6 separate regions of the Homo sapiens genome follow, and all the other regions are linked to region 1. Evidence: promoter capture Hi-C in 16 types of primary human blood cells and fetal thymus (Javierre and others, 2016). All regions are on one chromosome and are shown on one strand. Each heading gives the region's core, a stretch centred on a gene start or on the middle of the fragment in contact. The rest is flanking DNA. Distances are from core to core; before and after follow the strand shown.

What was found. The method cuts DNA at HindIII sites, captures the fragments that hold promoters and counts their contacts. A CHiCAGO score of 5 or more calls a contact.
Region 2: a contact is called between a fragment that was not itself captured here and the fragment with the promoter of PVALB in region 1, in 3 of 17 cell types (neutrophils, erythroblasts and megakaryocytes). The highest score is 5.9, in neutrophils.
Region 3: a fragment that was not itself captured here is called in contact with the fragment with the promoter of PVALB in region 1 in 2 of 17 cell types (neutrophils and erythroblasts); the score reaches 9.2 in neutrophils.
Region 4: the fragment with the promoter of CIMIP4 here is called in contact with the fragment with the promoter of PVALB in region 1 in 2 of 17 cell types (M1 macrophages and neutrophils); the score reaches 5.1 in M1 macrophages.
Region 5: a contact is called between a fragment that was not itself captured here and the fragment with the promoter of PVALB in region 1, in 6 of 17 cell types (neutrophils, monocytes, M0 macrophages and 3 more). The highest score is 9.3, in neutrophils.
Region 6: a contact is called between a fragment that was not itself captured here and the fragment with the promoter of PVALB in region 1, in 3 of 17 cell types (megakaryocytes, endothelial precursors and monocytes). The highest score is 6.1, in megakaryocytes.

The regions. Positions count from the first base shown.
Region 1 is chr22:36,814,793-36,818,635 of GRCh38, forward strand. PVALB (parvalbumin) reads right to left here and starts at 2,243. Exons shown (of 4, transcript NM_001315532.2): 1 at 2,153-2,243; 2 at 311-443. The coding sequence starts at 2,213. The HindIII fragment of the contact is 33,107 bases long and covers 1-3,843 here.
Region 2 is chr22:37,054,035-37,057,877 of GRCh38, forward strand. KCTD17 (potassium channel tetramerization domain containing 17) reads left to right here. Exons shown (of 9, transcript NM_001282684.2): 3 at 2,286-2,377; 4 at 3,364-3,459. It also overlaps the pseudogene RN7SKP214. Among named protein-coding and RNA genes, the nearest start is that of KCTD17, 4.2 kb to the left of the region's middle. The HindIII fragment of the contact is 5,049 bases long and covers 1-3,843 here.
Region 3 is chr22:37,026,548-37,030,390 of GRCh38, forward strand. MPST (mercaptopyruvate sulfurtransferase) reads left to right here. Exons shown (of 3, transcript NM_021126.8): 3 at 2,669-3,268. The coding sequence ends at 2,967. Among named protein-coding and RNA genes, the nearest start is that of MPST, 8.7 kb to the left of the region's middle. The HindIII fragment of the contact is 5,853 bases long and covers 1-3,843 here.
Region 4 is chr22:37,005,838-37,009,680 of GRCh38, forward strand. It overlaps CIMIP4 (ciliary microtubule inner protein 4), which reads right to left and starts at 2,014. Exons shown (of 6, transcript NM_001163857.2): 1 at 1,892-2,014. The HindIII fragment of the contact is 2,868 bases long and covers 243-3,110 here.
Region 5 is chr22:36,986,986-36,990,828 of GRCh38, forward strand. No RefSeq gene overlaps it. Among named protein-coding and RNA genes, the nearest start is that of CIMIP4, 19 kb to the right of the region's middle. The HindIII fragment of the contact is 2,121 bases long and covers 1,143-3,263 here.
Region 6 is chr22:36,965,519-36,969,361 of GRCh38, forward strand. LL22NC01-81G9.3 (a long non-coding RNA gene) reads left to right here. Exons shown (of 4, transcript NR_038954.1): 2 at 872-989; 3 at 1,650-2,070; 4 at 2,468-2,654. Among named protein-coding and RNA genes, the nearest start is that of LL22NC01-81G9.3, 2.2 kb to the left of the region's middle. The HindIII fragment of the contact is 1,181 bases long and covers 1,207-2,387 here.

The DNA.
Region 1 (3,843 bases), core at 993-3,492:
AGCAAGAAAACTGCCTCTTCATTTGCATTAAATTATTAAGTAGCAACATTCCATTAGCAATATTAAGTGGCTATCATTTAACCTAGTTAGTTGCACTTTCAGCTGAGGGTTTTACTCTTCCGAAGCAATAGCACCAGGAAGCCTTCTCCCCTGGTGCCCTGGGTCGGAGCCCTGCCTTCACGCACGGTTACTTTCTGTGAAGCAGGCAGAGTGAAAGGCAGGTCTGATGGACACTTGGAAGCTAGAGTCCCAGCCCCCACTCCCTCTCGTGCAGCCGTGGGCTGGGCAGCCCCTGCAGGCCTCCGCTTACCCCAGCTCATCCTCCTCGATGAAGCCACTTTTGTCCTTGTCCAGCATGTGAAACACCTTCTTCACATCATCCGCACTCTTTTTCTTCAGGCCGACCATTTGGAAGAACTTTTTGTGGTCGAAGGAGTCGGTAGCTGTGGGGGGAAGAGCAGGGTCAAACAAGGACCAGAAAGGCTGGTAGGGAAGCCTGGGAGAATGGGGGGCATCAAGGCATTTGTTGATGGATTCCCACATGCCAGTCATGGGGAATGAGAGGTACCCACCTCCATTGGAGGGCTGAGGGAGCCCGGGCAAGGGAGGATAACCTGTCCAAGGTCACAAGGCTGGGAGTGGAAGAGGTGTGCTCAAACCCAGACCTCCCTGGCTCTCAAGCCCGCCCCCACGCCCCACCTCCACTGCACCCATTGCTGATGATGGGAGCAGCACCTAAGAACCAAAGGCTTTTGTTCTTCTGAGAACCTTGTGCCCAGGAAGACTTTTGAGTGCCAGCTGGTTGGGAGTGGGCTGGGGAATTGAAGGGGGCATGAACATGGTCCTGGGGTTAGGGGGAGGAGGGTTGACCTTCTTTCTTGGCCACAGACTTTGTTGCCAGAAAATTGACATAGAAAGGACAGGTTTCCCTCAAGGTCATACAGTGGGAGGAGGAGGGGCAAACCCGGAAGTCCTGGCTCTGCGCAGAAATCCACTTCGGAGGCAGTGGGAAGGGGGTGTTAGGAGGCTCCCGAGAAACACCCAGTTAAGTTTCTTCCCACATGGGCTTGAGGTGAAGGGAGAGGGTTATCCCAGGACCCTGGGAGGGTGGCTTCCCAGAGAGGTTCTTGTGCCCAGGGGAGGGGGTGCAAAGCAGAAAGGAAATGGGGGTCCTTTTCTACCTGCAATTTTCTGTATCTTGGGGTCCTGTTTTAGAACACCTGGGGAAGGGTACAATGTTAGATCATGTATTTTGTGTGTGTGTGTGTGTGTGTGTGTGTGTAGGGAATGGCTGTTGAAGTCATGTTCTCTTCCCCTCAGCACAGGGCTAGAGACAAGGAAAGTTGCCCTGTCCACCTCCGACACTAGGCTGGGCAACCCAGTTCTAATACCCCTTCTGCCCAGCTAGGTGACCTTGGGCAAATGTCTTGTCCTCTCCAAGACAGTTCCCTGATTTCCCCATCTGGAGGACAGGGGAGGAGGAAGGCGGGCAGCTTAGCGCTGAAGTCCCGGGCAGCTGGGAGAGGTGAGACTGCCAGTTCCCCTCCCCTGCCCGCCTAAGGAGGCTGGAGGTTTGAGGCACTGAGGATGCCCCGTGCGGGCTTAGGCAGAGCTGTGCGCCGGCTCCAGAAGGTCACCTCGCCCGCAGGTCCGTTGCTGAATCTCAGTAAAGGAACTAGGACAGTCAGGGGGCCAACAAAGGCTACCGCCTGGCGGGAAAAGTCCTGTCCAGAATGAGGGTCCAGGAAAGGGGTCTCTTGGAGAGGAGGATGCCCCCTGCAGTCCCCTCTAAGTGCCTTAAAGAGGACGTCCAGAGAGCTCGTACAAGGACCCTGGAGGTCTCTCCTCCGACCCTGGTCTTCGCCCTTGGTCCCGGACCCTGAGTCCTCCCAGCCACCGGGCCTTCAGCACCCTCAAGTTTCTGTAACTTAGGCGGGGCGCCCTCTTCCCCGCCCGCTCCCCGCGCCAAGCCTCGCCCGGACAGAGTTTGGGAACTGCCAAGGACGCCCCCGCCCCGACCTCGCCGGCGCCCAGCGGGAAGTGTGGGCAGAAGCGCGCTGGGGAGGATCCGCCGGCTGCGGGGCCGGCGGAGTGCAGGGGCGCGGGCGGTGGACGAGGGGAGAGGGATGGGGAGGGGAGCGCGCTTGCTCACCGCTAAAGGCTCCCACCGCCTTCTTGATGTCCTCAGCGTTCAGCAAGTCTGTCATCGACATCCTGCAACTGTTTGAGCGGGCAGAGCAAGTGCGAAAAGATTAAAAAGTGCTTTTCTCATCATTTCTGCTCATATGACCAGCGCTGCAGTGCTGCGCGCCGGGCGCACGCCCGCCGGGCCTGGCATGGCGCCAGGGGCCCGGACTCTGAGCGCAGCGGGAGCGGCTCAGTCCAGCCGCGCCGCTGAGCAGCGCCGGCCGCCGGCAAGAAGGCGCGCGGACCTGCTACCACTCCTGCACCGCCAGGCCAGGGGTCCGCGGGATCCCAGGGGCTGCGGCCAGGGCACGAGGGAAGGGGCCACCTCTGGGATTTAGGGGGCACTGGCGTCACCAGCTGGGTCTGGAAAGTCCACCTGCCGTCAAGGACACGCAGGAGGTGCGCCGTCTCAGATCTGGGAACCTTGGCGGATGTCCTGCCGCGTGGGGGAAGATCCTGAACCTTCAGCGGCCAGCCTGCACCTCAGGACCTCCTAGGCCCTGCTCCCTTTCTCTCTCCACTCCTACCTCAGCCTCTGCTCTGGTCTGTCCTGGATGCAAATTTATGCTGCAAAATCTGAGCGCTGAGGTCCTGAAACCTGACCCACCCGACGCAGGGAGGAGGTGGCAGGGACAGGGACAGGGACAGGCAGGAGCTGCTGGGGCCCACTTCGGGTGCCCCATCCCACATCTGGCCAGGGATGCATATTCTAAAACCTGATTTGATGTTTTACTTTTATTTTTTATTTTTTTGCTGGCTTGATTTTTCGAAGAACACTTCTCAGATCTCTACTAACTACTTGCTTTCCTGGTCTCCTGGGTCCTGGCATCATGGGTCCAGACTCCCCCTACTCCTATAAACCTTTTTTGGGCAGAGTAGGGTGGGAGAGTCCGCTTGGAATTGCTATGCTCCCTCCCAGAAAGCCCCATATGTGTTTGGAAGAAGGGTAGCACCTTCAGACCACACTTTCTAGACAACCTAAGCAGGTGTAGGGGTCTGAACTTCACCTCTGGAAAAATGTCACGGTGCCTATCTGTATGCAGCCAGAGACCCGTTGTGTTCTTCCCCATGGTTCCCAAGGTTTCAAGCTGCAACCAGCTGCTTCTAGAGTGTGTGAGCGCTGGACAGGGAGTCAGGAGGCCTGGGTTCTAGATCCTGGGCTGCACTAAGTCCCAGTGTGACCTTGGGTTGTGACCTTCTCTGGGCTTCTGTCTCCTTCTGATGTGTTGATGACGTCAGTGGTCCCATGTAGTGGGACCTGGGGACTGCAACTTAAGGTATTGGCAGGTAGGCAGGGCCTTGGGCTGTGGTGGCCCTGGGTGGTGGGGACCAGGGAGAGCAGCTGTCCAGCTGCCCAGTAACTCAAGTTCCCTGACATCGCTGTCAACATTGTCTCCTGCAGCTCAGCCCTGGATGGCTGCCCTTCCTGGAAACCTTAGGATACCTCTGCTGGCTCCAGCTGCCCCCTCCCTGTGAGTCAGCTCCTTCAAGCCACAGCCCGCCAGATGGCTTCCAAGGCACCAAGGATGCAGCTCCTGACCTGATGCCTCTCAGCTCCAGGACTTCCCAGGACCCCTCAGCTGCCCTGGACCCTGCTGCTACTGCCGTCACCTCTGCACCTTGTCCCCAGCTGGGCTGCTGACTCAGATATGCCAG
Region 2 (3,843 bases), core at 643-3,142, 240 kb after region 1:
GATGTCATAAATCCTGCACCTGTGCGTGCCTTCCTGCTCTGGGCCATGGTCTGCCCTCCCTGAGCCCTATGGGACACAGTGGTCTGGAGGCCCAGCAACTCTCTAATAGGTCAGGGCCACAACACCAGAGTCCACTGTAGGTGCCTGGCCCTGCAGAGCCCCACAGCTTGCCTGTTAATCCCTAGGGGAGCACAGATACCATGGGCGTGGCCTAGGCTCAGGAGCAGGCCCCATCGGGAGGGAAGTAAACACCCCAGCTGCGTCGCAGCCAGCACCTGTTTACACGCCCTGCATTCTCAAAGCCCTGCTATTCCCACACCGTCAGACAGCGCTGTCTGGGGGCTAGAGGATCAGACAGGGTTATCTGGGGGCTAGGGGATCACACAGGGCTATCTGGGGGCTAGGAGATCACACAGGGCTATCCGGAGGCTAGGGGATCACACAGGGCTATCCGGGGGCTAGGGGATCACGCAGGGCTATCCGGGGGCTAGGGGATACACAGGGCTAGGGCTCATCCAGGGGATAGGGGATCTGAGAGGAGACTTACTAGCTGTGTGACACTGAGAAAGTGACCTAACCCCTCTGTGTCTGCATGCCCCCATCTGTGAAATGGGGGACCATAGCACCCACCTCACCGAGCTGTCATGAGGATAAAAGGAGTTAATAGTGCAGCATGGAGCTCAGTTCCTGGCCGGAGGATGTGGGATGCAGTGCTAGCTGTCTGTCACCTGCAGGGCTCCGCCCAGGGCACTGGGGATAATTCTCGTAATCAGGCAGCTGCACTCCCTGACCTCCTGCTCTGTGTTTGGTCCTGTGTGGGCACCGGGGACAGAGGGCAGATCAGAAATGTGAGCCCCATCTTAGCCATTTCAGGCTGCAATCATGAAGTAACATAGATTGGGTGGCTTATGAAAATCAGAAATTTATTTCTCTTGGTCCTAGAGGCTAGAAACCCGAGATCGGGGCACTGTGGCAGGTTCTGGTGAGGACTTTCTTCCGGATTGCAGACTGCTGACTTCTCGTTGTGTCCTCACATGGCAGAAAGAGAGGGAGCTAGCCCTCGCCCGCCCCTTCTCGAGAGCTTGTTTGGAGGTTCTAGCAGGGGAGCGCAGCTACTCACATACCCTTGACCAAAGTCCGGTCCTCCTCTATCGGGGGTGGTCGCCCCCTTCGATGGAGCTCACAGCTTCGGGAGGGACACACCTGGAGCAGTGAGGGAGGAAGGGGACACACATCTAGCCAGCCAGATCAGCTAAATCAACCCTGGTGATCAGTGGAGTGACAGATGTCCCCGCCAGATCGCCCTCACATCCAATTAGCCTTTCTTATAAGAAGACTGATCCTACCCTGGGGACTCTACCCCCATGATCTCATTACCTCCCCTCCTAATCCCATCACAGTTTTCAGCAGGTGGATTTTTGGGGAACACACACATTCTGCTCATAATGAGCTCTGTCCCCAGGGAGCCCAGAGGCCAGTCAAGGAAAGGGCCCAAAGGTCCCCTGCCTTCTGGGAGCCTAGGGGAGTCGAAACAGCTGCAAGCTCATCGCTTCACTGGTGGGCTGACTTCTTCATCTCCCAGATTAACTTAACTGTAAGATGGGGACAGTAATGCCTGCTCTCCTCATATCCCTGGACTTGTGATGAGCTCGTGCAGGGTGTTGCAAACTGTAAGGTGAGGCAGTTGGGGGAATGCATGGACACAAGGGTATGTGCTTACAGTGGGGAGACATGGGCTCTGGAGTCTGCAGCGCTTGAGTTCCCTCTGGCACTTACCAGCTGTGTGACCTTGGACAAGCTGCTTCTCTTTGGGAGCCTCAGTTTTCCCAGTTGTTCAATGCAGATGATGAAAGTACCTCCTTCTAGTTCTGAGAATTCAAAAATGTAATGCACCTGGCACTTAGAATGTGCTTAATAAATAGGAGCACATAATCAGGGGTCAGGCAAGGCCCTGCTCATGGTGACATTCTGGGGATCAGTCCCAATGACCCTGCTGTCTCTTGATAGCCCTAAAGCTGCCCCAGACGGTGGCCTGGCAGGTACCCCTGGGTCACCGCACTCAGCACAGCAGAGCTGTGTGGCAGCCCCTCAGCCCCTTCCACAGGAAGTGTGGGATCCAAGGAAAGAAATGCTCCCTCTTACTTGACCCCTGAACTCACAGACACTCAGCTCACCCTCAGGGCGGGTGATCAGAGCGAGAGGTGGGTTTCGGGGTGGAGGGAACAAGAGGAGAATGGGGCATGGAGGCAGAAGGAGTGACCTGGGATCTGTTCTGTCTGTGCCAGGGGTCCTGGAGGAAGCCGAGTTCTACAACATCGGCCCGCTGATCCGCATCATCAAAGACCGGATGGAAGAGAAGGACTACACGGTCACCCAGGTCGGGAGCAGGGGCAGCACACACGGCCAGGGCAGGGGCCAGTGGGGAGAGAGAGGCTGAGAGACGGGGCGGGAAGCAGAGGAGGTTGGGAGAGACAGGACCAGTGTTTGTCATGGGGAGGCCGAGCTGGCCTGTAAGGAGAGGCATGGTTGGGCTGACAGGCTGCCCAGCACAGCCCCAGACTCGGAGACGGACACTGGGGTTCAGTCCCTGTCTCAGCCCCATTTGCTGTGTGTTGGGCCAGGCTCGCCCTCTCCGGACCTTGATTTTCTCTTATGGGATAGAGAGGGGTGGGAATGGCACACCCATCCCTTCCTCATAGGCAGAAGGGGGTCAGTGTGGAGGTACAGGGTGCCCTGCAGAGGAAAATGCAGGATTAGCAAATTGTGCCTTTTGTGGCATCAGATGGTCGCCTGGTGGGCTCGGCACAGGCTGTTGGGGCTGGCGTTTGTGACCTTGGAGCCTGGGCCTCCCTGGCCAGTCTGCAGGAGGAGGGAAAGAGATTTTCCGCCTACTCTGGGGGATGTGTGAGGGTTGGGGGACAGGTAGTGAGGAACCATTTCTCAGGCCCAGGGGATTAAAGAGGGGAGGCTCCGTGTCTCCTTGAGGGCCTGACTCCTTGAGGGTGACCCAGAATGTTCCCTAAGCCCCACCCATGTTCTTTCTTGAATTACCCGTGTTCCGGTTCTGTCTCCTTCACCCTTGAGCTGGGTGACCTTGGGCAAGTAACTGGACCTCTCTGAGCCTCAATGGAAAGTCCCGTAATGCCTAGGATTCTTGGAAGGATTAAGTGAGATGGTGCCTGGTAAATGCCTGGTGAGGAGCAGGTGCTCAGAGCATGGCTGCCTCCCCCCAACCACCTCTTCTTTCTCTCCCTCTCTTCTTCTTTGGGTATGTTGCGGGGGTGGTGGCAGCAGGTGCTCATGCCCCTCCTGGGGTGCCTGGTGCTCCCACAGGTGCCCTCTATGTGACCCTTCTGCCCACAGGTCCCACCCAAGCACGTGTACCGCGTGCTGCAGTGCCAGGAGGAGGAGCTCACGCAAATGGTCTCCACCATGTCTGATGGCTGGCGCTTCGAGCAGGTGCGCTGGGGACAGGGGCGTGCCACCAGGACAACCCTGGGACCTCCTAGCCTCTGACCAAGCAGGCCCCTCCCTTCCTGCAGCCCCAGCCTTGGGTTCCCCACCACAGTCTCCCCCAACCCCAGGGTTCTTCTGAAATCAAATTAAACAAGGTTAGGAGAGACCACACTTGGTGGCAGGTTGACCGAGAGAGAGGATAGGAGCCCCAGTGGCCATAGGACAGCACGGGGTGTCCTTGTTGGTGGGAGTCCTCACAGCAACTGGGTGGTGATCTATCTGGTGGCATGAGTGAGTCTGTGGCCCCCGAAGGACAGCTCAGGTGCAAGGAGACCAGATCCACATAGGTGAGTGGAGTCCACATTGAGTCAGTACCTCTTAGAACTC
Region 3 (3,843 bases), core at 569-3,068, 210 kb after region 1:
GTGCTCCTGTGATGTGCCACACCAGTCCAGCAGGCAGGGGAAACATGCTTTGCTTGGTGGGATTCAAGGTGTAGGGATGGCCCTCCCTTTACAGTCACCACCCTGGGTTGAGAGTTTGTTCCTCCTCCTTGCTCTGGGCTGGTCTCTATGTGATATCTGACCAAGCCCGGTAACTGTGTCTGTTAGGTGGGATGCATGACCCATTCCAGCCTCTCCACAGACTCGGGAGTGCTGTCTCTATGCCAGGGTCTGAGAATAGATACCGATACATGGGTCAGCAGCTCCTGTGGGGGTGTCACTCCACTGCGGAGGGAAACCAAGGCAGAAGCTGGACAAGAGTCTGAATGGCTCAGATTTGAATCATTCGTTTTTGGGGGGTTTTTTGTTTGTGTTTGTTTCTGTTGTTGTTGTTGTTATTGTTTTGAGACGGAGTTTTGCTCTTGTTTCCCAGCTGGAGTACAGTGGCGCAATCTCGGCTCACCACAACCTCCGCCTCCCGGGTTCAAGTGATTCTCCTGCCTTAGCCTCCCGAGTAGCTGGGATTACAGGCATGTGCCACCACGCCCGGCTAATGTTTGTATTATTAGTAGAGACGGGGTTTCTCCATGTTGGTCAGGCTGGTCTCGAACTCCCAACCTCAGGTAATCTGCCCCCCTCGGCCTCCCAAAGTGCTGGGATTACAGGCGTGAGCCACCGTGCCCAGCCCAAGCGTTAGTTGTGAAGGTTTATTTTGTTGCAAATCCCAGTCCTGCATGAAAATGGGAATGTTAGTAACCCCTGCCTCAAGGTGGGGCAGTGAAAACAAAAAACACCCTGGGAGTCTGCAGAGGTGTGGGCCTTTCCCATCCCATTCTTTCTGCTACAATCAAAATGATCGTTTAAAAATGGAAATCTAGGTTGGGCAAGGTAACTCCTACCTATAATCCTCACACTTTGGAAGGCTGAGGTGGGAGGATCCCTTGAGCCCAGGAGTTCAAGACCATCCTGGACATGATGGCAAGCCCCTTCTCAATAAAAAAAATTAAAAGTAACAGTAAAAAAGTAAACGCAGAAGCCTGAGTTCCCCCTGCAGTCAGGTCAAAGCCCCCAAGTCTTACTCCAGGCCTGCTAAGGCGTTCCCATCCCCTTCAGCTTCCCCTTTGGGCCTCTGGCTTCTCACTGTCTGGGCTTTCGTGACAATGACCTTTAACCCCTCCGGGCAACAGGTGGTTCCCTCGCCTTTCAGATTCCCTCTGCCTGGGATGCTCTAGGCCTCCATCCACCCAGACCCCTTTATGTGACTGAATCCTACTCATCCTTCGGGGCATTCTCAGAGAAACTTCCTCCACCCACTGAGCCCCCAGCCAGTGTGGCGTGAAGGTGGGAAGCATAGACTTGCCTGGGTTTACTCCTCCCTGCCCTCTGCTAGCTTGCACAAGCTAGTCTTTGTACTTCATTCTCTTCATCTTTACAAAAGAGAGGATAATAATTTCTTTCCCAGAGAATTTTGGGGTGGATTCAAGGAGAAAGTATAGCTGACCGTCTCCAAACAGTGCCTGGCAGAAAGTAAGCATTCAATAACATCAGCTATTGGCCAGGCAAGGTGGCTTACTCCTATATTCCCAGCACTTTGGGAAGCTGAGGCAGAAGGATTACTTGAGGCCAGGAATTCAAGACCATCCTGAGCCACATACTGAGACCCCATGTCTATAAAAACCAAATTAGGCCAGGCGTGGTGGTTCACACCTGTAATCCCAGCACTTTGGGAGGCCAAGGCAGGTGGATCATCTGAGGTCAGGAGTTCGAGACCACCCTGGCCAATATGGTGAAACCCCGTCTCTACTAAAAATACAAAAATTAGCCAGGTGTGATGGGTGCCTGTAATCCCAGCTACTCAGGAGGCTGAGGCAGGAGAATCACTTGAACCCAGGAGGTGGAGGTTGCAGTAAGCCAAGATCATGCCACTGCACTCCAGCCTGGGCAACAAGAGCAAAACTCCATCTCAAAAAAAAAAAAAAGAACAAAAAAAGGAAATTAGCTGAGCATGGTGGCATGTGCCTGTAGTAGTCCCAGCCCCTCGGGGGGAAGCTGAGGCAGGAGGATTGCTTGAGCCCAGGAGGTTGAGGCTGCAGTGAGCCTTGATCATGCCACTGCACTTCAGCCTGGGCAACAGAATGAGACCCTGTCTCAGTAATAATAATATCAGCTATTGCTGTTACTGGCGTTATTTTTTTTTTACATGCCCCAGGCCACCCAGTAGGGCACTTTTGGAACACCCATTATGCTTGTAATTATTCAGTTGCCTGTCTGCCCTGCCAGATTAAAGCTCCTTGCCTGCAGGTACTGCACGTTCTAGCTAGGCAGGGGTCTTGTTTATTGCTTTGCTGTCCCTAGGGTGCATAGTCAGGAAACCTTGGGGCCCAGTTCTTAGGTTCAAAGTTCAGTCAGCAATTTGCTAGATGTGTTAGCCTCAGGTGGTACTTAACCTCAGCATCACCGTGTATAAAATGGGGGCTCCTCTAAACAGTGCTCAGGTTTTATGGTTGTGAGAATTAAATGAGATGGTGGATATAAAGGATTTAGCACCATGCTTGCATGGGATGCTCTCAATATCTCGAGCACCACAAATACGAGGTACCATTCATAGCATCCTTCTATTTGTCCCCTCCTCCCTGCTCCCCTGCTGTAGGCATTGAACCTGGCCACATCCCAGGTACCGTGAACATCCCCTTCACAGACTTCCTGAGCCAGGAGGGGCTGGAGAAGAGCCCTGAGGAGATCCGCCATCTGTTCCAGGAGAAGAAAGTGGACCTGTCTAAGCCACTGGTGGCCACGTGTGGCTCTGGCGTCACAGCCTGCCACGTGGCACTAGGGGCCTACCTCTGCGGCAAGCCAGACGTGCCCATCTACGATGGCTCCTGGGTGGAGTGGTACATGCGCGCCCGGCCCGAGGATGTCATCTCAGAGGGCCGGGGGAAGACCCACTGAAGCTGGGCAGGACACAGGCGAGCTCAGGTGATGCCGGCCACCAGCAATGCCTGGCCTGGTAGCTCCGCTTCTGCTTTCACCAAGAGAGTGTTTCTTCACTCAACTCAGGTGGCATTTGGGGTGACATCTCAAAGGCCAGGAATTCCGTTGACTTGTTGGCTGCCAGTAGGGGCGGGAGGAAAGGCGGAGGCGAGCCCTGGAGGAGGGAGGCCACAACTCCGAGCTGCCCACCTGGTGCTGAGCTGGGGCCCCGCCTCCTTTCTGTTTTATTTTTGAGGAAATAAAATAACCAAGTGCTAAATCTTGTAGCTCTGGGGCTGCCTCGGTTTTCCTAAGGAGCCAGGGGTTCTGTCATGCCCAGCAAAGGTCACTCTGGGGAGCCTGAGGGTCTTGGAGATCCTGTCTCTGCCTTCCAAGCAGTGCTGGGGCCCCAGAGCTCCCCACTTCTGTGACTGAGCTAGCCCCTAGCAAGCTGTCCCTCACCCCATAATCCTGGGCGTTCTCCCTTCTGGCATCTGGGCTATTTAAGGTGAATTTTGCTGTGACATGTCTGTGGTCCCACCCAAAGCTACTCTCCCACCACCTGCCCTTCTAGCAGGTAAATAGTACATCTCATTTCCAGAAGAAGATGGGGCCAGAGCTTAACAGAAGCCTGTGCCATGCCAAGGAGGAATGTCCCAGCCCAGCTGGGATGTTCTAGGGAAGGGCTAAGCTGAGCTGAATTGGAGGAGAACCTGGCTCTAAACTCTGGAAGCTCACACTTGGGGGCTGGTCTGTGGAATTCCCGGAGTGGGTGGACCCAGGGAGTTTGATTCTTTCTGCTCAAAGAGAACATCTCTCCCCATTTCCCAAGGGTAGGGGTTCCATCCTCCTTGC
Region 4 (3,843 bases), core at 764-3,263, 190 kb after region 1:
GATGCCAGTACTTAATGGTTCTGAAGTCTCATCCTTTCCAGATCCCAAAAGATGCTAAAATTAAGAAATAGCTTCAGAAGGCTGTCTGGAAAGTGTGCCCAGGAGTGTGACTGTGCGACCTGTTGTTAAAACTTCAGAAAGATCAAAGGATGAGGGTATTACTCTGTCAAACAAAGGGTGCTTTAAAGAGATTAAAGAGATGCCTGATATATCCTCTTAACAGAACCATAGGACCTCTAGGAAGCTTAAGGCTCCTCAACAGGAGCCTCAGTTAAAAAGGGGTGTGACTTTTGTTCAATGGAGTGAACCCCTGTAAGTTTTACTGTTGAGAAAATAACATCAGCAAAATGTTGGCAACTTCGGGTAAAAGGGATAGAGACAGTACAAAATGAAAAGATACCATTGAACAAAAAATAAAAATAAAAAAGACAAGTCAGAGAGTGGATGCAAGAGTCCAGAAGGCAGAGCTGAGAGCCATGGAGAATTATCCCCAGGCCTTGAAACCTAATCAAGGAATGTCCAACATTTGTGTGGCTGGATTTCAAAACCGCTATGGAACATTGACTCCATGTCTCCATTTTCCTCAATTTTGAATAGGAATGTCACTAGTTCTTATCCTATGCCTATCACATCACTGTATGTTAGGTGTGTTCAGGGCAAATTACTTAGTTTCACAGATCTATGATGGGGAAGAATTGAATCTGAGAAGCTGTACTTAAGGAACGACACTGGAGGAGCCTCAGCCACACCTGGAGCTGATTTATATGACCAGATTCTAGCTTTTAAACTGATGCTTTAATAGGATGAGAATTTTAAAGATCTTAGGAGGGGATGACTATATTTTGCATGTGGAAGGGATGTACATTATTGGGGGCCAGAGGGCAGAGAGTGGCAGGCAGTTGACATGGCTCCCAATGATCCCTGTTTCTTGGTATAATTCTCTCCCCTTTGGTGTGGACTGGACATAGTGATGAATGGAATGTGGCAAAAATGAGGGATGTTGCATCCATGATGAACTTATAAGAGACTACAACTTCTGTCTTTTTCACACACTCTCTGCAGCTCTCCTCAGCTCATCTTCTCTGACAGAAGCCAGTTTCCCTGTTGTGAGATGCCCTATGGAGAGGTCCACAGGGCAAGGAACTCAGAGTGGCCTCTTGCCAACAGCTCCAGAGTAGCTGGATCCTGCCATGTGAATGGGTTCCTTCTCTGGTCGAGCTTTGAGATGAGACTAGAGACCCAAGCAACACCTTGATTGCAGCCTGTGAGAGACCCTGGGACAGAAAAATCACCAACACTCCACCGGTATTCCCAACTCACAGAAACTGTGAGATAGTAAATGTTGTCTTAAGCCCACTAAGTTTTGGGGTGATTTGTTGTGCAGCAAGAGATAACTAACACAAGTCCATGTCAAGCATTCTCACATCTGGTAAATTAGTCTGGTCTTCACAAATACCCAGTAAGGTGTTCGGAGACACTACTAATTTATCTTCTTTCACAGATGGAGAAAATGAGGCTCCGAAAAGACACAGGACTTCACCAGGTGGGGCTAAAATTAAATTGCACATCTTCAAGCTAGGTGAAGTTCAAGTTAGCTCCAAGTTTTCTTTCTCCTCCTATCCCCAGCCACCAACCTGACGTGCCCACGGCAGCTCTGTACGTCCCAGTGCACTGCCAGTCCACAGCAGTCTGGACGGGCTACAATGGAAGTGTGGACTCACTTCCAGTTTCTGACCCAGAGAGAGAGATCCCAAGAGACTTTGGTCAAAGAGGGCGGGAAGGTAAGTCCAGTCTAGGCAGTCTTCACTCACAAGCAACTCTGAATGGGGAGAAGGAAGATGAAACCCCATGTCCTGGAAGAACCCTGGCCCTTCATAAGTCTCTGCCTCACCTCTCCAATCTCTTTCATAACAGCAGGAAACACGTGAACCACACTGATGTGTGCTGAAGCCCAGAAGTGCAGATCCCCACTGCAGAACTACTGGTGAAGACCAATGGATGGTTGCTGGGAAGTGGCCCTCCCCAAGATGTTCATTGGAGTTGCCATGGTGATCACTATACACAGGGCTCTGTTACCTCAGAGGGCTGATAGGCCCACCCGTAGGGAAAAGAGGCCAGGAGAAAGCCAGGATTGAGGCCAGGAAAAGGCAGGAGGGGCTTCAATTATTGTTCACTCTCTCATCCACTCTAGAATGTCAGTTGAGCCCCCACTACATGCCAGGTGTGCCAGGCACAGGGGGCTCAGATGCTACCAAGTGCAAAAGATGTTCTTGGGAGCTCAAAGCACTAAGTAGGGAGAAGAACTAGCTCTGTGTAGGAAAAAGGAGGAAGGACTTATGAAAGAGCCATTTGAGTTGGATCTTGAAGGATGCCTAGGAACTTAACAGTTTTGAAGGGATGAGAATATTAAAGGCATGGATGTGTATAACAGCATAAATGTAGGTCGAGGTCAATGGGGAAGGAGAAAGATGCATCTGGAGCTGTCTGATTTGGACACCCAGGGATCAGGGACCTGGGAGTAAAACTAAAGGAAGGGTCCTCTCTCCTATTCCTAAACAACAAGGGCTACAGAAGGAGATCAACAAAATTAAGTGACTTCTTTTCTGCAGAGAAGAAGGAGGCAGAAGTCATTGGTGCCAGCACTGGCCCATTCCTGTCTGGCTGTTGCTCAGCCTGGACAAAGAGTGGGTATAGTGAACGCCTCCTGCAAGCCCAGCCTTTCAGGATTTCCCCAGGAAACAGAGAGTGCTGTGGTTAAACTTGGAGTCCCCAGAATCTGGGCCTGTCACTTATTAGATAAGAGACTGGCCAAGTCCTTTAGCTGAACTTCCTTCACATGTGAAACAGATATCACCCAACACTAAGGATAAGGGTGATGGGCGAATAAAACAATTTTTTGCAAAATGTAGCACATTGCCTTGCACAGAGAGAGACATCACAAAACTCTAAGCTACTTCCGCAAGCAACCCATCAGCAAGTCCTTCGAAGTACACTAGATTTGGATGCCTTCGTCCACCTCCACAACTCCCCCTACTCCCTGGTCCAAGCCACCCTCATCTCTTGCCTAAGTATTATCTATTGCTGCACGACAATCTTGCCATAAACTTCGAAGCTTAACATACAACTGTTATCTCACAGTTTCTTTGGGTCGGGTGTCTACTCATGGCTTAGCTGAGTTCTCTGCATTGGGGTCTTAGCAGGCTACAATCCAAGTATTGGCCAGGGCTGCAGTCTCATCTGAGGTTCCACTAGGGAAGAATATGCTTCCAAGCTCATGTGGCTGTGGGAGGATTCAGTTCCTTGCAGTCTGTTAGACTGAGGGTCTCAGGCTCTCTCTGGCTGTCAGCCAGAGGCCATCCTCAGTTCCTTGCTATGTGGGCCCCCCAACACCAACATGACACTGACTTCATCAAAGCCAGCAAAGAGGGAGTCCCCTTGCAAGATGGGGCATTACAATGTTGTGTACCATAGTCACAGAAGTGGCATCCATCACCTTTGCCGTAGGCTGTTGGTTAAAAGCAAGTCACGGGTCCCACCCGCAGTGAAAGGGAGAGGGTCACACGGGGCATGAACACGAGGGGGCAGATAATATGGGGACCACCCTGGAGTCCACCATATCCTCTGACAGTCTTCTCACTCAACAGCCCAGCAATCCTGTTAAGACCTATATTAGATCATATGTCACCCCTCTAAACAAAACCTTCCAGCTCAACCACAGTAAAAGCTGACATCCTCCCATTTATCTGCAAGGCCCTACCCAACCTGTCCACCATTTTTCTCTGACCTCTGCTCCTCTCACTTTCCCAAGTGCTCCCTGGGTCCCTGCCATGCCAGGCTCTGCTG
Region 5 (3,843 bases), core at 953-3,452, 170 kb after region 1:
TTAGTTATCTCATCAGAAAGCATTTTGGCAGCTCTGTCTTGTAAAGCTGCTTCTGAAAAGCACTAAATTAAATGTAATGTGAAGTTGGATTTCTGTGGCATCCTTCCCATTCACCTTCCATACTCATACCCATAAGCAATGGACTGGTTTTGTGTGTCCCTTTTGAAGGCTACATCAACAGTACATTTCCTGCTGTAGGGGTCGTTCTGCAGATTGTCATTTTCACCCGCAATGATGTATTGTGAGATCTTCCTATGCTGATACATGCAGATGTGGTTCATTTCTTTCCACTGCCATAGATCATCCCATTTGTCCATTGTCCAGCTAAAGTGCATTTAGGTTGTTTTACTTTTTTTTTTTTTTTTTTGAGATGGTGTCTCACTCAGTTGCCCAGGCTGGAGTCCAGTGGCACGATCTTGGCTCACTGCAACCTCCGCCTCCTGGGTTCAAGTGATTCTCCTGCCTCAGCCTCCAAGTAGCTGGGACTACAGGCACCTGCCACCATGTCTGGCTAATTTTTTTGAATTTTTAGTAGAGACACGGTTTCACCACATTGGCCAGGCTATTCTCAAACCACTGACCACAAACGATGTGCCCACCTCAGCTTCCCAAAGTGCTGGGATTACAAGCATGAGCCACTGCACCCAGCTGAGAACAAGAACTTTTAATACTTGCCAGGTTGTTTTCCTATTGTAAACTATGCTGCAATGGAGATCTTTGCACGCACTCCCTATATACATGTTCAAGGGTTTGTCTAGGCTGTGTAGAAATGGAAATTGTAGGTTGTATGATATAATTTCAATTTTGCTAAATACTCACCCACGGCTCTTGGCTCATAATTCATCAAGGGTACGAAAGTTTCCATTTCCCTCATTCTCATCTACACTTGCGTTTTAATTCTTGCCAACCTGATGGATTGTTTTCATTTGCATCTCTGATTATTGGGGATAATGAGCATCTTTTCAACTCTTCCGTGTGGCTTCTTTAGTCATTAACTCTTTATGTTCCAGCCAGACTGTAAATTCCTAGAAGGAAGGTCTGAGTCTCAAATGTAAGGCCCTCACAGAGGACAGCCCGGTCCAGGCATAGACTCTCTGTTTCCTACCTCACCTCTGTGTTCCTCCTTGGAGCCCTACCTTCCAAGCTTAACAAGCTACCTGCAGCTTGCCAAATACATCATGCTGCAGTTTCATGCATACCATGCCCTCTGTCTGGAATGCTGTGCCTCTTCCAGTCCACCTGAACATCCTTATTCATGTTCCATGATTCATCTCAAGAGCCACCTCCTCTATGAAGCCTACCATATGACCGGCACCCTACCCCATCCCAGGCAGAGCTAACCACGTTCTCCTTTGTGCTTTTGCTGGCCCCACGTGAACGTCTCACCGCATGTGTAAGACTTCTGAGCATCTATGTACTGATGTATTTGTCTTCTCGCCAGACTCTGAACTCTTTGAGGACAGGCGCCATGTCTTATTTATTTTTGCACGTCCAGCTCATTGGTCAGGGCTGGGCAGGGGCATATCATGGGTAGATAAGTCTCTAAGGCAGCTTCTTCCACATCAATCTCCTGCAGACTGCAAAGCTCTGAGGTCTGGACTGTATTGCATATTGCATATGCATATTGCATATTGTATTGCATTCATATTGCTGTTTTCACCGTGCCTAATAGGGCTGAGTGTTTGTGGTGCTCCGTCAACAGGCACCACAAACACTCAGCCCTGTTAGGCACTGCACTGTCATACTACGTACACTGCAGTACGATTGCCTGGTAGAGTAGAAGTGACTTTGGATAGAAATTCCTGGGTTTGCACCCCCAGCTTCCTATGCATATAATCTTGTACAATTTCCTTGGCCTCTCCAAGCCTCAGTTTCCTCATCTTCATAAAGGGAGTGATAACAGCTCTGAGGACTGGTGTAAGGATGAAATACAGTTCCGTATATAAACCATGTGGCACATAATCATTTGCCACGTTATCATTTCTATGTCAGAACAGCACAGAGTCTGCTTTAGCCACAAGACTTTGGGTGGCTCATTTTTTCAGGTGTCACATGTGATGGGCACATAGTAGTTGATGAAGACAAAGTCTAGTGTTTCCAGTGCCCAGAACAGTGTCTTGCAGAAACTAGGTACCCAGTAAAGAAGTTGAACTGAACTCTGCACTTTGCACATAATTAGATATTTGATGAATATTAAATCAAGTCAGATTCACTTCCCTGTATTGCATTCTGATCCAACCCTACCTTTAAGTCATTCCTGGACGGGCGTGGTGGCTCACGCCTATAATCCCAGCACTTTGGGAGGCTGAGGCGGGTGGATCACTTGAGCTCAGGAGTTCAAGACCAGCCTGGCCAACATGGTGAAACCTCATCTCTACTAAAAATACAAAAATTAGCTGGTCATGGTGGTGCACTCCTGTAATCCCAGCTACTCGGGAGGCTGAGGCAGGAGAATAGCTTGAACCCAGAAGGCGGAGGTTACAGTGAGCCAAGATCACACCACTGCACTCCAGCCTGGACAACAGAGCCAGATTCCATCTCAAAAAAAAAAAAAAAAGAAAAGACAAAGAAAAAAAAGTAAGTAAGTCATTCCCTTTTGTGGGAGGAGGGGCAGTTGAGGGAGAAGTAGGAACATGTCTCCTCTTCTCCCAGTAGTGATTTTGATTCTTCCTCTCGCTTTTGATCTTTCAAAAGCAAGATGACCACCAGGACAAACTATTATTTTGAGGTCGCCAATGAACCATTCCTGCATACAGTAATACTCTTATGTAGTCCCCTCTCACAAAGTCTGGGCTTGGCCATATGTCTCTTTGGCCACAGGGACATTGACAAGCCAGTGCAAGGCTTGATAAACCATTGCACATTGAATCTTGTCCCCTGAGACGGCTCCTTCTTGAAACCTAGTCCCCATTCCAAAAGAAGCTCAAGTGAGCCACGAAGAGAGGTCCCATGAGAGAGAGTGATGATCAGCCAGCCCCCCACTGTGGTTCTCATCCCAGCTGAGGCACTAGGCATGGGAGAGGAGCAGGCGTCTTCACAGCAGATGCTATACAGAACAGAAATGAGCCGTACCTCCTGAGCCCTGCCTAAATTGCTCAATCATGAGCAAATTAAGGATCATGTCATTTTAAGCCCACAAGTTTTGGTGGTGTTTTGGAACACAGCAAATAATAAATAACCCATGGGTAGAGCACGGTCTGAGGGTGCAAGTCAGTGATCTCGGGGTGGAGTGTGCTGCGGGCTTAGAGACTCATCAGGTGAAAAGCTTCAGGATCAACTGGAAAACAGAACCGTCTGACCTAGAACCCATTATCTGGGGACTCTTCCCTGGGGCTCCAAGCCCCTATGGTCTGAGGATGCTTTTGGCTCCTTAAACAATGAGGAGACCTCAGGCTCACATTACAGGAAGTCCAGAGGCCGGCAGCTTCTGGCCAAGTTGATGGAGCAGCTCTGCGAGGCCATGGAGGACCCAGAATGTGCTGCATGGTCTGCAATTCCTCTGGTCATAGGTGTCTGGCAGGAGTGGTCTGGGCTGCATGGTTCCTCATTCATTACATCAGGAAAGATGGATGCTCTCTCAGCATTCCCAGCTGAGAAAAGAATTTCCCAGAAGGCTGCACGCATCCACACGTTTCCTTGCATCTTATTGGCCCAAATTGAGTCATATGTGCATGACTGAACCAATCACGTGCAAGAGGTGGGGTTGGGGTAGGGGTAAAGAATCACCATGAGACCAATCAAACCCGCCACTAGATTGGAGGAAATGTGTGTGGCCAACTCCTCTGAAGTCCGTGTCTCGTGGGGGAGGAATGGATGTCTGGGAATAATTGGCATCTTCTAGGA
Region 6 (3,843 bases), core at 547-3,046, 150 kb after region 1:
TGTTCTTCCCCCAAACCTAAGAGCTATGAATTCAATGACCTATAGAACCTCTTTCCTTGTATGTTCCAGAGACGAGATACCTCAAGCTCCACGTGCCAGAATGTGACTCTTTGGCCACCCCCCAGCCCCCTATCCCCTACTCCCAGTGACTTTGTCTCTTGTAAGAGGCCTTGCCCTAGGCCACTGGTTCTGCTAAGGCCAGAGAAATGCCCACACACATGGTTGCTTATGGGAAGGGGTCATCTGAGCCAAAAATGGGGAATAGAGGCAGCTGCATGCCTTGAGCCACACTTGCAGAATCTGCCTGTCCAGGCCTCTCTTGTTCTCAGTGGTGACCTGTCTGCCTCCTGTTCCTGGGTCTTCCTCTTTCTGTGACTGAGACACCCTCCCCCACTGCCCGGCTGGAGGCTCAGCTCCATCCTCAGCTCCAGGACCAGCCCTGACCCGGGGAAGGAGGGGTTCACAGGGTCACAGTTGTGCCTATACTTCCTTGAACCTCTGTCCTCATCCCTGGGCCCACCCTTGCTTCTGAGAGCTGGGCCACCCTGTGTGGCCTCTGACAACTGAGTTCCTGCCTTCTTCCCCATGCTGGAGTTTGTTCTACAAAGCTCAGATTGGAGACCTTGTTGTTCTTGATTACAACTTACTTCTCTGTTTCCCTACCTCTACAGATGTGGTTTCTAGACAGTTTTCAATTATATTGATGAGTAAAAAATTTTTAAAAACAGAAAGAAAAATACAACTTTATTTTTAAATAAAAAAGAAAATATCATTTACTATCAACATCATTTTCTACTTTAAAAAAAAGACATTTTATTTTATTTTATTTTATTTTATTTTACTTTATTTTATTTTTTGTTTTTTGAGACAGAGTCTCACTCTGTTGCCCAGGCTGGAGTGCAGTGGCATGATCTCAGCTCACCACAACCTCCCCCTCCCAGGTTCAAGCAATTCTCGTGCCTCAGCATCCCGAGTAGCTGGGATTACAGGTGTGTGCCACCACGCGCAGCTAATTTTTGTATTTTTAGTAGAGATAGGGTTTCACCATGTTGGCCAGGCTGGTAAAAAGGGACATTTTAATACAAACGAAGTAATCAAAGAATTCTGATCTCAGCGCGCAGGATGGCCCTTTTCAAACAGAGGCAGCTGGCCATTTTCCTTGCCTTCATTTTCCAGGGTTTTCTCCTCCCATGAATGGGCAGTGAAAGCTTCATCCTGGACCAATCCTGCTCCACGATGGCTTTGGGGACCTGCCTTGCCCCAGTGTTTTGTCTGCAGGCCTGGCAACTTTGACCATGAGAGGCAGACTCCCTCTGACTGGAGGCTGACAAGTGGAAACTATTGGGATTATTCCCAGTGGCCTTACATGGGGGCGGCTCAGCTTGGTGAATTCTCAGGCATGATCCAAATCTGCCTCCCAGGCCCAGAACATCATTCTCTGGGATCCCGGGGCTGCCTGGGCTCTAGGAAGCCATTCTCTGCTGCTCCTGGTGTGCCCCTAGGGCTGGCTGAGGTTGGGAAGGCCTCCCCTCGCTGGAACAGAGGACAAAGTGATTCATCTTGATCCCCGTGAAATGGTTGTGCAACCCCAAGAGCCTGAGATTCATCAAAGAACGTGTCTCTTTATTTCCTGTTCATTACATTGCCAGGCACAATCCAGACAAGACATCCCAGCACTGCTTCCAGACCTCTGCTTGAAGGTGGGATTCTTCAATCTCCTGGACATTCTTAGAGTCTGGCTTTACACCACGTCTCCTTTGCACGATGGCAACACCAGCAGTATCTGCCCATGTGCAAGAGAGCCTCTGCAACAGCCCAATGGAGAAATGGAGGAGTTTCCAGGCCCACGTGACACTGAATCACAATTGTCTTTTACCGCTTGGGATGATGATGCCATCACTTTTCTCTAATTTTTTTTTTTTTTTTTGAGGCAGCCTCACTGTCACCCAGGCTGGAGTGTAGTGGCGTGATCTTGGCTTACTGAAACCTCCACCTCCCGGGTTCAAGTGATTCTCCTGCCTCAGCCTCCTGAGTAGCTGGGATTATGCCTACTATATCTCCAGCCTACAGGTGTGCGCCACCACGCCCAGCTAATTTTTATATTTTCAGTAGAGACAGGGTTTCACCAAGTTGGCCAGGCTGGTCTTGAACTCCTGGCCTCAAGTGATCCGCCTGCCTTGGCCTCCCAAAGTGCTTGGATTACAGGCGTGAGCCACTGTGCTCGGCCACTTTCCTCTGATTTTTAAGTGAAGTATATACATACATACATACACAGCAGGCAAGTGGAATTCCAAGCACAGAGGGCTTTTCAGCATAATTCTGAGAAGGCAACTTTGAGCAAATAACTTGCAGACATTATACAATTCTTTCTTGTTAAAGTCAAGGCAAGCTTTTCTGGGAAGGGGCATGAAGACCTTGACATAGTCTGCTTAGTTTTATTTATTTATTTATTTATTTATTTATTTAGAGACGGAATCTCGTTCTGTCACCCAGGCTGGAGTGCAGTAGCGCGATCTCAGCTCACTGCAACCTCCGCCTCCCCGGTTCCAGGTTCAAGGAATTCTCCAGCCTCAGCCTCCCGAGTAGCTGGGATTACAGGCCATAGTCTGCTTTAAAAATAATAATAATAATAATAAAAGACAACAGTGAAGAAGAAAGAAAGAATGATTCCCTCTTCGCACAAGAAGAAAGTTCTGATGCTTTTGGTATCATGGGGTCTTAGGTTCAATGTGTAGTGAGAGCTAACTAAGACAATTTTTATTTGTTCCTCTGAACACTTCTGTATTCCTATGACTACGTCATGCTTTTCCAGTTGCTATAACTTATGGAGTGTTTTGATATTTGGCATCCTCACTCATTAGTCTTCCTTTTCAACATTTTATTGGACACGATTACGCTATTATTCCTCCAAATTATTGTTAGAATCAATTTATCAAGTCATAAAAATGTCCTCTTAGAATTTTTATTGGAATTGCGCTAAATTTAATTCTTAATTTGGGAAGATCTGACAGTTTTGACAACTTTGTAATACTGGCTCTTTTGATCCAATAATTATGGATTTCCACTTATTTTGGGAATTTTACTTCAGCAAATTTTAAAAGCTTTTTCCTAGGTTCTTATTAGATTCATCTCCAGGATTTTAAGATTTCAGTGCCAGCCTACCTTCTCTCTCTCTCTCTTCCACCTTCCTCCCACCTCTCTCTCTTTCTTTCTTTTCTTTTCCTTCCTTCCTTCTTCCCCTCCTCCTACTCCTCTTCTTCCTTCCTTCCTTTCTTTCTTTTTTTTTCTTTCTTTCTTTCTCTTTCCTTCTTTTTCCTTCCTTCCTTTTTCTTGCTTGCTTGCTTGCTTTCTTCATTTTCCTCTTTTGTGGCCAATATCTTCCCAACCTATCTTATTGCAAATGATTATTATTAGTGCAAAGAAAAGCTACGGATGTTTGTGTAATGAGTTTATACCCAGCTCCTTCTCGAAGTCTTGTTCGTTGAATAATTCTTATTTAAATCTTACATGCTTTCTAGACATACAAGCCTATCTTCTTCAAATTATGAGCTTTGTCTCTTATTTTTAATAGTTATTTTACATATTATTCCTATTCAATCACAATTGCCAGAAAGTTCAAAACTATGTTGACAAATTCCTGGTGTTGCACACACCTGTCTTCAGAGAGATTGCATAGAGAATGCCAAATGCTTCACCATTCGAGAGACTTAGCATCGCTTCCTGAAAAGTCATCTTGATCCTACTAAAAAAATATTCTACTCATGACAGCAGGCATTCACCTCTCAAGGGTCTATGTCCAGGGAAATGTTTCTGCCTCCATCTCCAAGTGGCCATGTGAGGCGT